4 separate regions of the Homo sapiens genome follow, and regions 2, 3 and 4 are each linked to region 1. The links are contacts of gene promoters, found by promoter capture Hi-C in blood cells and fetal thymus (Javierre and others, 2016). All regions are on one chromosome and are shown on one strand. The core of a region is centred on a gene start or on the middle of the fragment in contact, and the rest is flanking DNA. Distances in the headings are between cores, read along the strand shown.

Region 1 (3,077 bases), core at 540-3,039:
CCTCTTTGAGGCAGGAGGGGAGAAGCACAGTCCCTGCCAGGTTGCCTGAACTAAAGATGCCATGGAGCAGGAGTGTCTTGGTGCATTGTTCCCCGCTTAGGAGTACCTTTAAAAAGGGGGTGAAATAAATTTGGCTTAATAATTGTATTCTGACTCAGCTCTGAGTTTTTTGTGTCAAATTCCATGGTATGGTGACAGATACAGTACTAGATACTGCCTCAGCTCTCTCTCAGCATAATATTGACAAACATTTGGTAAAATGTGTTACCAGTCGTTATCTTGGCTTCAGCCTTCCTCTGCATTGGCTGAGTTGCCGTTTCTAGCATGATACATGCTTTATTAGTGACAGGATGTGAAGTGTCTCAGGGATTTCCTTTTGGTGAGGACCCCAGACCACCCGAAGAAGAATTAGAACTTTCTGGACTACAGGTTATATACTGTGATTTTGCTCTGTCAAGCAACATAAATTGATCCTTGAACGCTGTGAGAGTTATGGACACAGACCCTCACACAGTTGAAAATCTGCTATGACTTTTGACTGCCCGAAAACTTAATAGCCTACTGTTGACTGGAAGCCTTATTGATAACATAAACAGTTGATTAATGTGCATTTTGTATATGTAGTATATACCTTATTATAATAAGCTCGAGAAAAGAAAATGTTATTAAGAAAATCAAAGAAGAGAAAATACATTTACTGTTCATTAAGTGGGTCATCATGTTGAGCAGGCTGACGAGTAAGAAGAGGAGGGGTAGTCTTGCTGTCTCAGGGGTGGCGGGGAAGGAAGAAAATCTGCATGCAACTGGCCCTGTGCAGTTGAAGGCCCTGTTGTTCAAGGGTCACAGATTTAGCTTCACTTACCCACCCCTCAGATCAGAATTACTCAAGATTTCCCTGTCTTCAAAGAGACGCAAGGAAATTATGCCAAATGGTGAATATATTGGGTGGAAGATAAATGAGAGAAGGTTGTATGTGTCACTGATCTCAACTATAGCATTTGCTGCTGATATAGAACATGCTGTGTATATATCTATAAATACACACACATGAACACATTGCATGTATATAAAAATTGTTCACACTTTTAGTGGTGCTTACTGGGTATTGGTAAAGGATTGAGTAGGCACTGTGATGAAACTTCACAAAGCAGATGGAAAAGATGCATTAATAGCCACAGGGGGCAGGGTAAGGGAGCAATTCAGGAAAATGGAGAGGCTTAGCTAAAATTTGTCAGTCAGGAATTTTGGCATTTGAGACTTGTTTTCATACTATGTATATGTAATAGACAAACCCTTCATTTTGTAGTAACAGTGTTAGAACAGCCAGGTGCCTGAAGGCAAGCGACACAATTCACTGAAGAGCATACTACAGATGTAGTATCCGGATATCAAGTTTCCCCACTTAAAAAATGGGTGCGATCAAAGGAAAAGCAAGGAACGGGCAGGAGAGCAAGCGTGAAAGGTGACAAACTTGACAATTACAAGGCCGAGACTAAGGCCAATTTAGGGAACGGGCTGTTAGACTAGGAACAAGGGCGAGTTCAGAGGGAGGGGCAGAATGTGGGCAGCACTCCTGGGCCCTGAGACCCTTCTGCGGAATAAAACTCTGGCACTTCGCCACCTCCTAGGCTGAACCAAGATGGCGCGCGGCCTCAAAGCGGCGCTCTCGTCACGTGCCCGGACCCGAGGCGCTTGGGGGCGGGAGGCGTGGCCTCGGTCGCGGCAGCCCAGCCCCGCCTAGGGGGCGGAGCCGGGGGGGGTTGTCCGCGGAGGAAGGGGGCGGGGCCCCGCGGCCGCGCGCTTGGGCGGCGGAGGCTGCAGCTACCTCGGCGCCGGCTCGGCTCTAGGACGTGTCGGGCTGCACGGGTCGGGGGCGGCTCCCTGCTGCTTCCGAGCCTAGCCGCCTGGCCTTCGGCATTTGCAGGCAGGTGAGCGCCCAGAGCCTGGACTGGGGTAGGATGCGTCTTTTCCCCATCTCCAGCTCCCCTCGACAGTTTGGGGAGGGGTCTCGTCTATCGCACCTCGGGAAACAGCCCTTTTTGACTCCGTATGTGCTACCTCCGGCAGGCGTCGGTACTGCTTACCCTGCCGCCCCTCGCCCTCCTTTGCGGTGCCCTGTGCCCTTGGGGGTGAGGATAGGGGCGATGCCTGATCTGCGGGGAGGGCGTGGAGTGCGCCCTCTGCTCCATCGGCTTCAGGGGAGGGGGCCGAGTTGGCGAGTCTCCCGGTGGGAACGGAGCAGACTGCGCCCCCATTTCCCCTCCAGGAGAGTCAGAAAAAGCGCCTCTCGGCTCCGGGGCCAACCCCACTCCTTTGGGGACGCGATTCTGATGGGCTGAGGTCTTCGCTCTTCGCGGGGGTCTTAATCTTTCCCGAGTTGCTCATAGCACCCCTGTTCCTGTCGCTAGCTCTCCATTCCTCGAACTGCCAGCCTCAGTCTGTGCCAGAGATGCCCCCATCTCCGCAGTGCCAGGGCGGTGGGGTGGAAGGAGCGGCCAACCCGAGGCCTGGTGGGGGTGGGGACAGGGGTGGGCGCAACAGGAAAAGAGGGCTGGAATAGAGATGCCTGAACTGGGAGGGTGGGAGTGGGGCGCTGACTTACGTCCACGCAGTAGGGATGTTTTCCAGCGCAGATTTTGAGGTTTTGATGGTGGGTGGGAAGAGAGAGGTCGGGCTGGAGGACTTGGAGACATGGTGTAGGTGGTTTTCTTCGAGAAGGAGGAGGGATCCAGGACAAGGTGCCACTAGGAGCTGATGTCACCTTTGAGGAGAGGTGTGCTGGTAGTTTCCATCAGAGGAGCAGGAGAGTTGGGGCCGTTCTGTGTGGAGAGCAAGTGGTTAAGGAGGCGCTGCTTCGCAGGGAGATCCCCTCCTGGTGTGAGCTTAAGGGTCCCCTCCAGGAGCCAGGTTTCAGGGATTTCCCATAGTCCTTTCCAGAGTTCTTGGATCTGGTACCTAGTACTTTGCTCAACATCCAGCAAACATTTGTTGGACACCTACTATCTGCCAGATACTATGCTCGGTGCTAGGTCTTCTGAAGGCAATTTACAGCCACGGAGTAGCTGAAAGGTACACAT
Region 2 (3,426 bases), core at 429-2,928, 150 kb after region 1:
GCAGGTGACCCAGGGAACTTGACCTTTTGTTTCTGAGCCCCTTTCTCAAGGCGTGGGGGCTGGACCACTCAGGGAAATGGCTTCTTAGACCTCCAGAGGCCCCTTACTGCTGAGGAACCTGGAACTTTCTTAAGGCAAGATGGTGATAGCGTGTGGCTTGTGCATGTGAGCGTGGGACGGGGGAAATGACTGCCTGGTTCCCTCTACCTGCTGGCCTCAGTTTCTCCATTAGATAAGGTGTTTGGGAAGGGCTGGGTAGCTGAAGGCCAGGATGGGCTTTACCAATGTTCTCTCGGATGTGGATGGGCTGGTCCAGCATGGCCGGCGGGCCAGCCCCTGCAGAACTCACTGCAGACACGCGCAGGAGGAACTTGTCTCCCAGAGCCAGGTTCCGCACAGTCTGCTGGGTCACCATCATGGGCCGGGCACTCACAGGCACCCACTCCGAGGCTGAGGGGATGGAGAGAGTGTGAGGTCTTTGCAATGTGGCCACAGGCGCCCCTCTCCATGGGGCTTCTTTTCCTGCTGGTGATCTGGGGAAATCAGCCTCCCTCTCTGGGCCTCATTTTCCCCTTGTTTGCCTTCCCTGACTTCTTGTCAAATGGCATCAAAGACACCTGATGTTAGAGCCCTGAAATTGTGGCTAGAGATGAGGTTGTTGAAGCCCAGAGAGGGTTGGACACATTTGCAAAGTCACACAGCAAGGTAGGGGCAGAGGCAGAGGCCAGGCTGGACTTGGGCCATGGAGGGGGACAGTGGCAGCAGGGATGTGGCCCCCACACCCCCACCCCATTCCCGCTTTCTCCTCACTGTCTCTTACGCTAACATTCCCCTCTCCAGCTCCTCCCTTTCCACTTCCTACAGTTCGGGGTCCTCTGAGACTTAGCACTTCCTTCCCTTCTCACCAAAGGAGAACCCAGTGTCCCCTTACCCTTCCCTTACTCAGAAGCTCCTTGGAGCTGAGGACAAGGGAGCCCCTCAACCCACCCACCTACCCTTTCTTGCTCTCCTGCTGGTGGAGCAAGAAAGGGCAGGTGGGTGGGTTGAGGAGCCTACTGCTCGCATCCCCTCCTTCTGTATCTCTCCCAGACTGACCAACCACAGGGCCTGTGCACTTGTCCCTGCAGCCCTCCATGACAACCTCCCCTGGGTGTATGCAAGACTTAGCCCAGCACTCACCTCCCTCTCTGCAGAGCTCCAGCACATAGCCCTGGAGGCCCAGCCTCCCCAGCCTCTCTGGGGGCTCCCAGCTCACAGTCACAGAGCTGCTGCTCACATCATCCAGGGTCAGCAGCAGTGGGGCACTGGGGACATCTGGGGAGATGAAGAGGTTCATGGCCAAGAGCTCCCCTCCACCCCTGACATGCCTGCCTCCCTCCTCCCCCTGCCCCACCTTCAGTCACCTTCACTTGGGGGTGCAGGCTTAGTGGCTGTGGAGGCTGTAGGGGCCTGTGGGGCAGGGGCCTGCGGCTTGGGCACCTGCTCTTCTCTGGTGGACTCTGATACTGCCACTTCTCCGGGAGGCTCTGCTGTGGGCACCTTGGCAGATTCAGATGCGGTCTCCTCTGGACTGCAGGCAGGGCCCTCGGAGGTGTTTTTTTCCATCATTGCTGGACTGGCTGGGGGGCCAGGGTGGAGTGTGCAGGGGTCAGCCGTTGGGGGGCCTGGGCCTCTAGGGTGCCTGGGACACCTAGGTCCAGGCTTATATAGTCAGGGGCTGCCCCACCCCCAGCAAACGATTCCCAGCTGTGGGGTCAGGTCAAGCAGGAGGACTGGAGGGTGGAGAGGCGCCCAGGCCAGGAATAGCTCTGGGGGAGGAACCACAAGGGCCCCTTGAGGAGTCACTTCCTCATCCATCTCCCCGACTGGCCTTCAACAGCCAGGGTGCTGGTGCCCAGCTGGGGGAGGGCGCAGATGGGTGAGATGGGACATCGAGCAGGCCGCGTGCCAGGTGTCAGGGCAATAGGAGGAAGAACTTCTATCTGGAGAATGAGCCCAGCTCAGGCTCTGTGTGTCTGGCGTCTATGGGGCCACTTGTTCCCAGAGCTTCTCAGACTGGGTGCTGGGGCCCTGACAGTTTGGGACAATCGTCCTTGTGAGCACTCCCAGCTTTGCCTCTGGGGTCCACATTCCCTGGGCTCCCACAGTTCCCAGGGACTCTCGCCTGTGCTGTATGAGGCTGAGGGCCCTAGAGAGGGAGGGAATTGAGATGCTGAGGGTGGAGCTGCTCAGAGGATGGTCCTCCAGCATTGGAACCCCAGGAAGGGGCACTAAGTCTCCTGGCTCCTGTCTCAGTTGGGCGGCTGGTAAGGAGCTCGTCTCCCCTGATGCCTGCTGTGGGCCTCAGTTTTCCACCTGTTACAGAGAACCCCTCGCCCTTCGGGATGGGTTGCAGTTGTAGGCAGATCTGGAAGATGCCCTAGTGGAGGAGAGCACTCTGAAGCTTCTAGACTCTTCCAAGCAGGCTGTGGGCATGGGCTTTCTCAGTGTGCCAAAGGAGGCAGATATGGCCAGATTTCTAGTCATTGATTCATTTGTTCGATAAAATGTTAAGACTGGGAATCACTGGAAAGCCAGAAAATGCCATGTGTCAGGAAGGAGGGAGAACATTAAGAACTTTTATTGCTGGTATTGGAGCAGTCACTCTGGAAAATGTGAGAGTTTTACTAGTGCCTAGTAAAATGGATGAGGTGCCTACTCCGTGACCCAGCCGTGCCGCTCATATAACACCCACACATGCCCCAGGAGACATGGAGAAGAAGGTTCATGGCAATGTTATTTGTAATTGTTGAAATGTGGGGGAAAACAGCTGTCCCTCAACAGTGGGATGGATAAATAACTGTGGAGTGTTTATGCAACTGTAAAGCAAAATATGGGGTCAAATGAGCAACTTCAGCTACTCACAGACCCAGTGATGAGCAGAAGAGCAAGGCACACAGAAATGTTGCGTCTCATCTGTCTCATCTACATTAAATCCAAATGCAGTCAACACCAGGCTCCCTTCTTCAAGGTACATCCGTAGGCGGTAAGGCCAGAAAGGAAGATGAGGCCAGTACAAAAGTTAGGATGGCGATTGCCTCTAGGTGGAGGAACAGGGATATCTGTGATCGTGAGGGCTGCAGGGGTGCTAATGAGGTTTCCTTTCCTGACCTGGGTGGTGGTTACACAGGTTCTTACTACATAGTTATTCTTCAAATTAAACAAATACATTTATGCACTCTTTAGCACGTAAGATGTGCTCACAATTTAAAAATAAGTAAAAGTGATTTATTCAGGGCCCTCAGCAGCATGCATGCTCTTCCCTTTCCTGAGGACTGGGGACACCAGGGTGTGGCTGCCTCTCAACCCTGCTGTCTCTGCTGGGGAGTGGCAGTGCAGGGCCTGGGAGCCTCTGGATCTGGCCCTCCCTGGATGCCCTCGCCCTCT
Region 3 (3,419 bases), core at 180-2,679, 210 kb after region 1:
CTCTTCCATCTGGCTGCTCCTCTGTATCCTTTGTAATATCCTTTAAATCAATGGGTCAATGTAAGTAAGTGTTTTTGTGAGTTCTGTGAGCTGCTCTAGCAGAGGAAGAGCAGAGGAAGGGCGTCATGGGAACCCCAGTTTTTAGCTGCTTGATTGAAGCACAGCTCACCACCTGGGACTTGTGATTGGCCTCTGAAGTGGGGGCAGCCTTGTGGGACTGAGCCCTCAGCCTGTAGATCTGACTCACTCCAGATGGATAGTGTCAGAATGGAATTAAATTATAGGATACCCTGTTGGTGTCTGCTGGAGAGTTGTTTGGGTGTGGAGAGAAATCCCCACACCTCTGGTCTCAGAAATGAAGTATGGAGAGTGAGTGTGAGAATAGTAGAATACAGTCAGTTTGTGTGTTTTTCCATTAGGCCACCCGCCTACCTCTCAGCCTTGTGCTGGTCACGCCACCCTGAGCACCCCAGTTCTATTTCATGAACGTGAGTGTGTCAAGCCTTTTCCAATCTCAGGGTCTTGGCACAGCACCCTTTGCCTGGGATGTGTTCTCCTTCTCATTCTCATCCTCCAGGGCTGGTCTCTGCTGTCACCTCCTGAAGAGGCTTCCCTATATCTGCGTATTTCTCCATGGCAGGGCAGTTCTGCTACTCTCTCCTGAAAAGGTGTTTATTTTTCCTCCCCAGACCTTATCCTAATTTGCAATTACATATTTATTTTGTGAGCTTACGTATTTAATGTCTGTAACTCTCTCTAGACTGGAAGCCCCAAGAGCAGTGACCGTGTCTCTTTGTTCATTGCTGTGCACCAAAAACCAGGTGCCTGTATAAAGAACTGACCTCAATAGACATCTGTTGAATGAGTTGATTATTGAATACTATTCCTTCAACATCCCTTGTAACTCAACGTCAAGTGCTTAGTAAGAAGCTGGTTGATGTGAGAAGTGCATACCACCCCTTAAGACCTCTTAATGTATTAGCAGAAGCTATGCTCCCCATATTGCAGTGGAAGAAAGAGAAGCCAGGGAATTTGCAAGCCTTCCAGAGCTAAAGTGGAGGTTTCCAGGTTCTTCCCTTTCCATTTGGTTATCTTTGGACAGGCCTGGCTCCCAGGCAGAGGTGGAGCTAGTGGCTGCAGGCTGGTGTGGGCTTCAGTCATGGTGAAACTCATATCCTGGAGTCAGGGCACTCTCTGGGGACAGAAAGCACCTTGAATCCTCTCTGGCCACGTGGATTCTGGCCTTGCATGTCTAAACATCAGCCTGTTTCCTGTTTCCAGTGGACCATATCCCAGTGGTAGTTGTTTCTTTCACCATTAACAGGTTTGAGCCTGAAGCAGTTGGCATGTAGTGGGCAGTAGAACTAGAAGGGGAGAGTCAGGCCTAGGTCATGATATGGGCCAGGACTGGAAGTACAACCCATTCAGACCCCTACACCTCTCCCTGACCTGCTGTCTTCAGATACCTGACATTCTGCATGGACTCCTTCCCTCCTCCCCACCTCCTTCTCTCTGTCTCACCCCCTTTCTCTCTGTCCCTCTCTTTTTTCTCTCCTTTCTTTATTTCTACACATAATTATTGTTGTACAATAATAATGTCCCATTGCAGCATTTCTTAAAATAGCATAAACCTAAAACTGCCTTAAGTGTCACCAACTGGAGCCTGAAATTCCATACGTCATTAAAATGAAACAAAAATGTCCTCAATATATTGTTAAAGGAAAAAAGCAAGGTGTACCCATTTCGTGTGGCAGATTGAGCATAGGTATTTATCTCCACTCTCTCCTGAAATCCCTTGAAATCACAGTTAAAGGAATAAAATGGTATAAATCTACTAGGACAAAGCAAACAGAAGAGGAAATTAAAATAGATAAGAGATGCCAACAAATGTTTGGAAGGTGAAAACAGAATGAACAGGTGAAACTGTTTGTGACAACAGAATGAACAGGTGAAACAGGCTTCACAGACCTGAAAAAGCTGAAACCTTGGTCTTTCATGTGGGGCCTCTTTCCTCAAATGTCTGGTGATCAGGCTGCAGGTGGGGAAGCCCACAGGAAAAAAGAGAACTCAGGCCAAAGGACCCTGAAAATGTGCAGGAGTCAGCAGAAAGTTGCCAAGTGGGCTAAAGCTGACAACAGTAAGTGTGGGTGACCTGTTGGACCCCTGGATCTTCTTCATCCCCATTAAATATGGGGATGGTCCAGAGGGACTGAAGACTCAGTAATACCTGGCCCAGCAGAGGATGGTGTGGGGGCTGTAGTGGGTGGGGAGGGTGTTAGACTGAAGACTGAGAAGAAGGACTGAGGAATTAAATGAAAGTCTGTACATGGGATGCTCAGAACTTCCAGGCTTTCCCCCCGCTAGGCTCCCAGAGCCCCAGTAAGAGGACTGAAAAATTCCTCTCAAGGAAAAGCTGGCCAGCCTAAGAGAAAAGTTACCAAAACTCAGACTACCAAACTCAAATGACATTTGAGGGCCCCCAGCAGAACAGCCAGGTTCTTCTCCATCACCCGAAGGTGGGGACCTTGGATAAGAAGCCCACCAAGCCTCTAGAGCTTCCAGTGGGCTTCTGTTGACTCATATGGAACCAAAAGCCTGGTGACTAGACATTCGAGGAAAGAGTCCCCACAGGAAAGACCAAAATAAAAAAAGAAGGAACTCAGAGAAATCAGAGTGGGCAGCTCCCAGCGATTCTGACTTTCTAACCTCAAACGACTATATTCTGCCCATTAACAATGCATTACTTTCATTCTTAAAAATTACTTTATGATAATCAATGGGCATAAAATTTCAGTCAAGCAAGATGAATAAGCTCTAGAGATCTGCTGGACCACACTGTCCCTACAGTCAGCTATATTGCATTGTATACTTCAAAATTTAACAGGGTAAATCTCATGTTAAGTGTTTACCACAAGTAAATAAAAAATTTTAATATGCTGATTCATTGCACACTTTCTAGGTAACAGGTGCTTGCCAGGCACTGGGGACCCTGAGATGAATTCACAGTCCCTGTCCCAGTGGGGTTTATAGCCTGCAGCGTTAAGCATTGCTTTTGGCTGGAGTGATTTCTCAAAAGGCAAATCCCCTGAGCGGTGCAACCCTCTGAGTTATTTACACCTCAGCCTGTTTTCACCAGGAGGAAGAATTTTTGGTCTCCACCATGGGCCCTGCAGTTTTTCTTATCTTCCCCCACATTTTTTGAAGCTGAGACTCCTCATCACTCAAGGTTTTAAACATGCCAAGGCAGGGGGCTTTAGCTTGGGGCCTTGGGCCAGGGCCTGCTGGTCCCTGTGAGGTGGGTTCTACCTGGCCTCTGGGGACCCAGGCAGGGAGGACAGGTCTAAGAAAAGACCCTTGTGGGGGCATCTTGGCCCTAGGTTTTCTCAACCCCCACTCAAGGACTGTGCCCAGGGTTCTAT
Region 4 (3,479 bases), core at 254-2,753, 190 kb after region 1:
CACCAGATTCCTGAGGCTTCCTGAGGGTATGACTGTGTGTTCCCTCAGAGTGGGATTCTCTGTCCTCTAACCCTGCCAGGGGGCCATGGTGCTTGATCCCTTGCTGGCCCCAGCCTCCCTTTCAGCTAGCTCCCTTCCTCTACCTGCCCTGCTTGGGGGTCCAGCTATGTGGGCCTACACTTTGTTTTCAGAGTCCAGCCTTTACTTTCTCTGCACCCGCGTCTTTGCTTGTGCAGTTGCCCGCTCCCTCACCCCTAAGAATGGCCACCTTCTATGCTTTAGGACTTATCTGAAATACCCTTCCACCGTGACCCCTTCTCCCATCTCCCCAGCCAGGATCGTGCCCCCCTGCAATTGTCCACCTCTAGAAGCTGCCGCTGTCAGCCACACATGATAGTTGATGTGGGATGTACAGATAAACTAGTGAAGCATCCGTCTTCAGGAGCTAACAGTTTCACAGGGGAAAATGGCATGAAACCAGGTAAATGCACCAATATTGGGCAGGAGAAGGGGGTCCTATAAGTAAAGCAAAAGGTCTGTAATTTGGACATGCACCAGATATTGCCAATGGGCTGAAGAAAGCTATATGTCTCACCATGTGTATTTCTCCTCTTCATATGTCTGTAGAATTTGTATGGTATTTAATAAAATAGAAATACTTTCCAGAGTGCTACTAAATGTAGAGCAATTTTTTGTCATTTTGTCTTTTCTGAGTCAATAGGTAGTAAAGGTACAAAATACTATCACGTGGAGATTTATGAAATGTTGGGACATTTAAAGGAGACTCACCCTTGAGGTCCTGAACTGTCCTCATTCCATGTCATTGACAGGACTTGTTCACTAGGACCACCCCTCTGCCAGCAGAGCTGGGCCTCACCTTGGTTTTGAAGCTCTCCACATCATCAAAGCCCACCCACTGGTTGTCCCGGAAGATGTAGGGCACCTTCTGATCCTGGATTCTCTGTTTGGTGGCCCCCTTCCAGGAGCAGACCTGTGGGAGCAGAAGGCAGCACTGGGGAGGAGGAGGGAGGCTCTTGCAGGCACCTTCCCTTCCTCACCAGGAGGAGACTAGAGATTGGAAAATTCCTGTCTGAGGAAGCCTGGAGAATCAGGAGGTTCTTTGCAGTGACCTAGAATTCTGGACTCAGCTTGAGGCACCTGGGCTTAAGGATAAATTCAAGATGGCATGGATGAGATGGAATTTACATGGCCAGAATTCTCTGCAATTGGCATCCTTACTCAGAAACGGTGGGAGAAGGAAACCTCTGTTCTCTCAGGCACCCCCTGACCCTCACAATACCCAGGGTGGTTATGGGTTTTCCTACTTCATAGTAGGCCAGCATCCCTCCTTCCTTGGTGAAGGGGCCTGGAGTGCCAGACCCTGTGGCTGGGGCCCCCACTCTGGTGTCTGATGAGGAGGCCAGTGTGAAGGAGCGTCCGTAGGTAGGCATGCCAAGGATCAGCTTGCTGGCAGGGGTCCCCTTCTGCAGCCACTGTTGCACAGCAGCATCCTGGTGGAAGAGGGCAGGGTTAATTTTCTCAGCCCTCAGCCTGGTTCTGATTATCTAAGTCTGGGGGATCCAGAGGCAGAGCTAGGAGGGCAGGGGCTCCTCAGCTGGAGCTCTACGGGCCTTTGTTAGGATTCCAGCCCTACCCCATCTTCTTTAGAGCCTGCCTTAGACCCGTGACCCCAGTGAAGAAGCTGCATGGCATGATAACCAGAGAGCGTGGGCTTCGGACGCAGACAACCATTCACTGAACAAATGTGTACTGATGGCCCACTGTGTGCCAGGCGCTGTCCATGGTGCTTCAGACACATCAGTGAACAAGGCAGACACAGATCCCTGCCTTACCCAGCAGCTTATTTAACCTCACTGAACCTTGGTGTTCTGTCTGTAACATGGAAATAAGGAAAATATCCATCTCTTAGGGCATTGTGAGAATTAAAGGTTATAATGCATGTAAAAGGTCAGCACAACGCAATAAAGGGTCGCTGTGGTCATCATCGTTATCATGATTGTTGTCTTAGTTTTACCCTGAGTACAAAAGCAGGGAATTGGGTCTGCTTTATTTATCTCTGTATCCTCAGTGTCTAGAATGACACCTGATGCTCAGATAGAACAAAGGCTTCCTTACCCACCTTTGAATAAGGCCTTCCCCTGATTATATATTACTTGGTGTAACACCCCCAGGCCTGTGACGGGAGAAGGTACCCGGTACAAGTATGATAAATTAATGAATAATGAAGCCTCATTCCTTAAGCCAAGAGTATGGTTCACTTTCCCCCAGAAGCTGCCCTAGTTTTGTCAGGTCTAGTTACTCTGAGCCCACTTAGCACTTAGGTAAAGAACAGCTTTCACTACATTTATTTAAATATATTTCTTTTTGTCCATCTATACAACTTATCTTTGATCAGATGGGTGCTTTCTGAAGGCAGAAGTCGGGGCTTCTCCTGATCTGTTATAGCACTTTTGTGCAAGTTGGGAAAAGTCACCCATCTGGTTAGAACCTGTCCCCGGGCACACTGTGTGGTGAGTAGAAGGCCTCTTTGTAGGAATAAGATGGCCTCCATTCCTCGGTGGATTCAAGGTACACAATGTGGAAAGCAGGGTGCTGGAGGGACTCCCACCCCACTCACCTCTCAGCTAAATTTCTTTCTGTGTCTCCCCACCAGCACAGGGATACAGCTTCCTCCAAAACTCACACAGTCTTCCAGACAGGGATGGAGAGGCCAGGCTCAGTGTGAAATGTGGGTGCCTGGCTCACTGGCTCAAAGAGGTGCTCTTTATTCATGAAAGAGCCAGAAAATCAAAGATGTCCCACTCCAGCTGACATACAGAGATGTGGGCTCTCCAAAAGTAAAAAGCATTTTAATTTAGGGCTTTTTCTTTGTTGTTTGGTTTTGCTTGTTTTAAGAAAGAAAAATAATGTAGTTATTATAAGCCCTCTCTGCAGGGTTTTATAAACCCTCTCTATATTTTAAGATATATAGAGGGCTTATAAAAAGGATCTAGGCTGGGCATGTTGGCTTGTGCCTATAATTCCAACACTTTGGGAGGCTGAGCCAGGAGGATTGATTGAGGGCAGGAGTTTGAGACCATCCTGGGCAATATAGCAAGACTCCATCTCTACAAACTTAAAAAAAATTAGCTGGTCATAGTGATCCCAGTTACTCAGGAGGCTGGGGCAGGAGGATCGCTTAAGCCTGGGAGGATGAAGCTGCAGTGAGCTATGATCATGCCACTGCATACCCTCCTTGGTGACAGAACAAGATTCTGTCTCTTAAGAATAAATATATAAAATTAAAAAAAATTAAAAGTGTCTTGATTGCTCAATGAGGAAAAGTTAGGAAACCCCAACCTACCCTAGTCTAAAAACCAAGCCTGCCCTTTGCAGGTGCTGGGAGTACTTCCACCCTGAGTGACATCTGCAGAGATGTTATCAACTTGGGAAAGCTCCTGTCCCTGAAAGGACCTTCC

Evidence for each region. The method cuts DNA at HindIII sites, captures the fragments that hold promoters and counts their contacts. A CHiCAGO score of 5 or more calls a contact.
Region 2: a contact is called between the fragment with the promoter of MYBPH here and the fragment with the promoter of PPFIA4 in region 1, in 2 of 17 cell types (M0 macrophages and M2 macrophages). The highest score is 6.5, in M0 macrophages.
Region 3: a contact is called between a fragment that was not itself captured here and the fragment with the promoter of PPFIA4 in region 1, in 2 of 17 cell types (M2 macrophages and M1 macrophages). The highest score is 8.2, in M2 macrophages.
Region 4: a fragment that was not itself captured here is called in contact with the fragment with the promoter of PPFIA4 in region 1 in 3 of 17 cell types (M2 macrophages, M0 macrophages and megakaryocytes); the score reaches 7.0 in M2 macrophages.

Annotation. Positions count from the first base shown.
Region 1 is chr1:203,024,702-203,027,778 of GRCh38, forward strand. It overlaps PPFIA4 (PPFI scaffold protein A4), which reads left to right and starts at 1,790. Exons shown (of 30, transcript NM_001304331.2): 1 at 1,790-1,928. It overlaps TMEM183A (transmembrane protein 183A), which reads left to right. Exons shown (of 8, transcript NM_138391.6): 8 at 1-147. RefSeq lists a silencer at 1,580-1,889 and an enhancer at 1,716-2,237. The HindIII fragment of the contact is 10,467 bases long and covers 1-3,077 here.
Region 2 is chr1:203,174,148-203,177,573 of GRCh38, forward strand. MYBPH (myosin binding protein H) reads right to left here and starts at 1,679. Exons shown (of 11, transcript NM_004997.3): 1 at 1,404-1,679; 2 at 1,180-1,314; 3 at 283-450. The coding sequence starts at 1,608. RefSeq lists enhancers at 1-343, 3,261-3,426. The HindIII fragment of the contact is 10,255 bases long and covers 1-2,441 here.
Region 3 is chr1:203,236,630-203,240,048 of GRCh38, forward strand. No RefSeq gene overlaps it. Among named protein-coding and RNA genes, the nearest start is that of CHIT1, 8.7 kb to the left of the region's middle. The HindIII fragment of the contact is 4,451 bases long and covers 1-3,419 here.
Region 4 is chr1:203,218,339-203,221,817 of GRCh38, forward strand. It overlaps CHIT1 (chitinase 1), which reads right to left. Exons shown (of 11, transcript NM_003465.3): 8 at 1,326-1,511; 9 at 878-991. Among named protein-coding and RNA genes, the nearest start is that of CHIT1, 9.6 kb to the right of the region's middle. The HindIII fragment of the contact is 4,475 bases long and covers 1-3,479 here.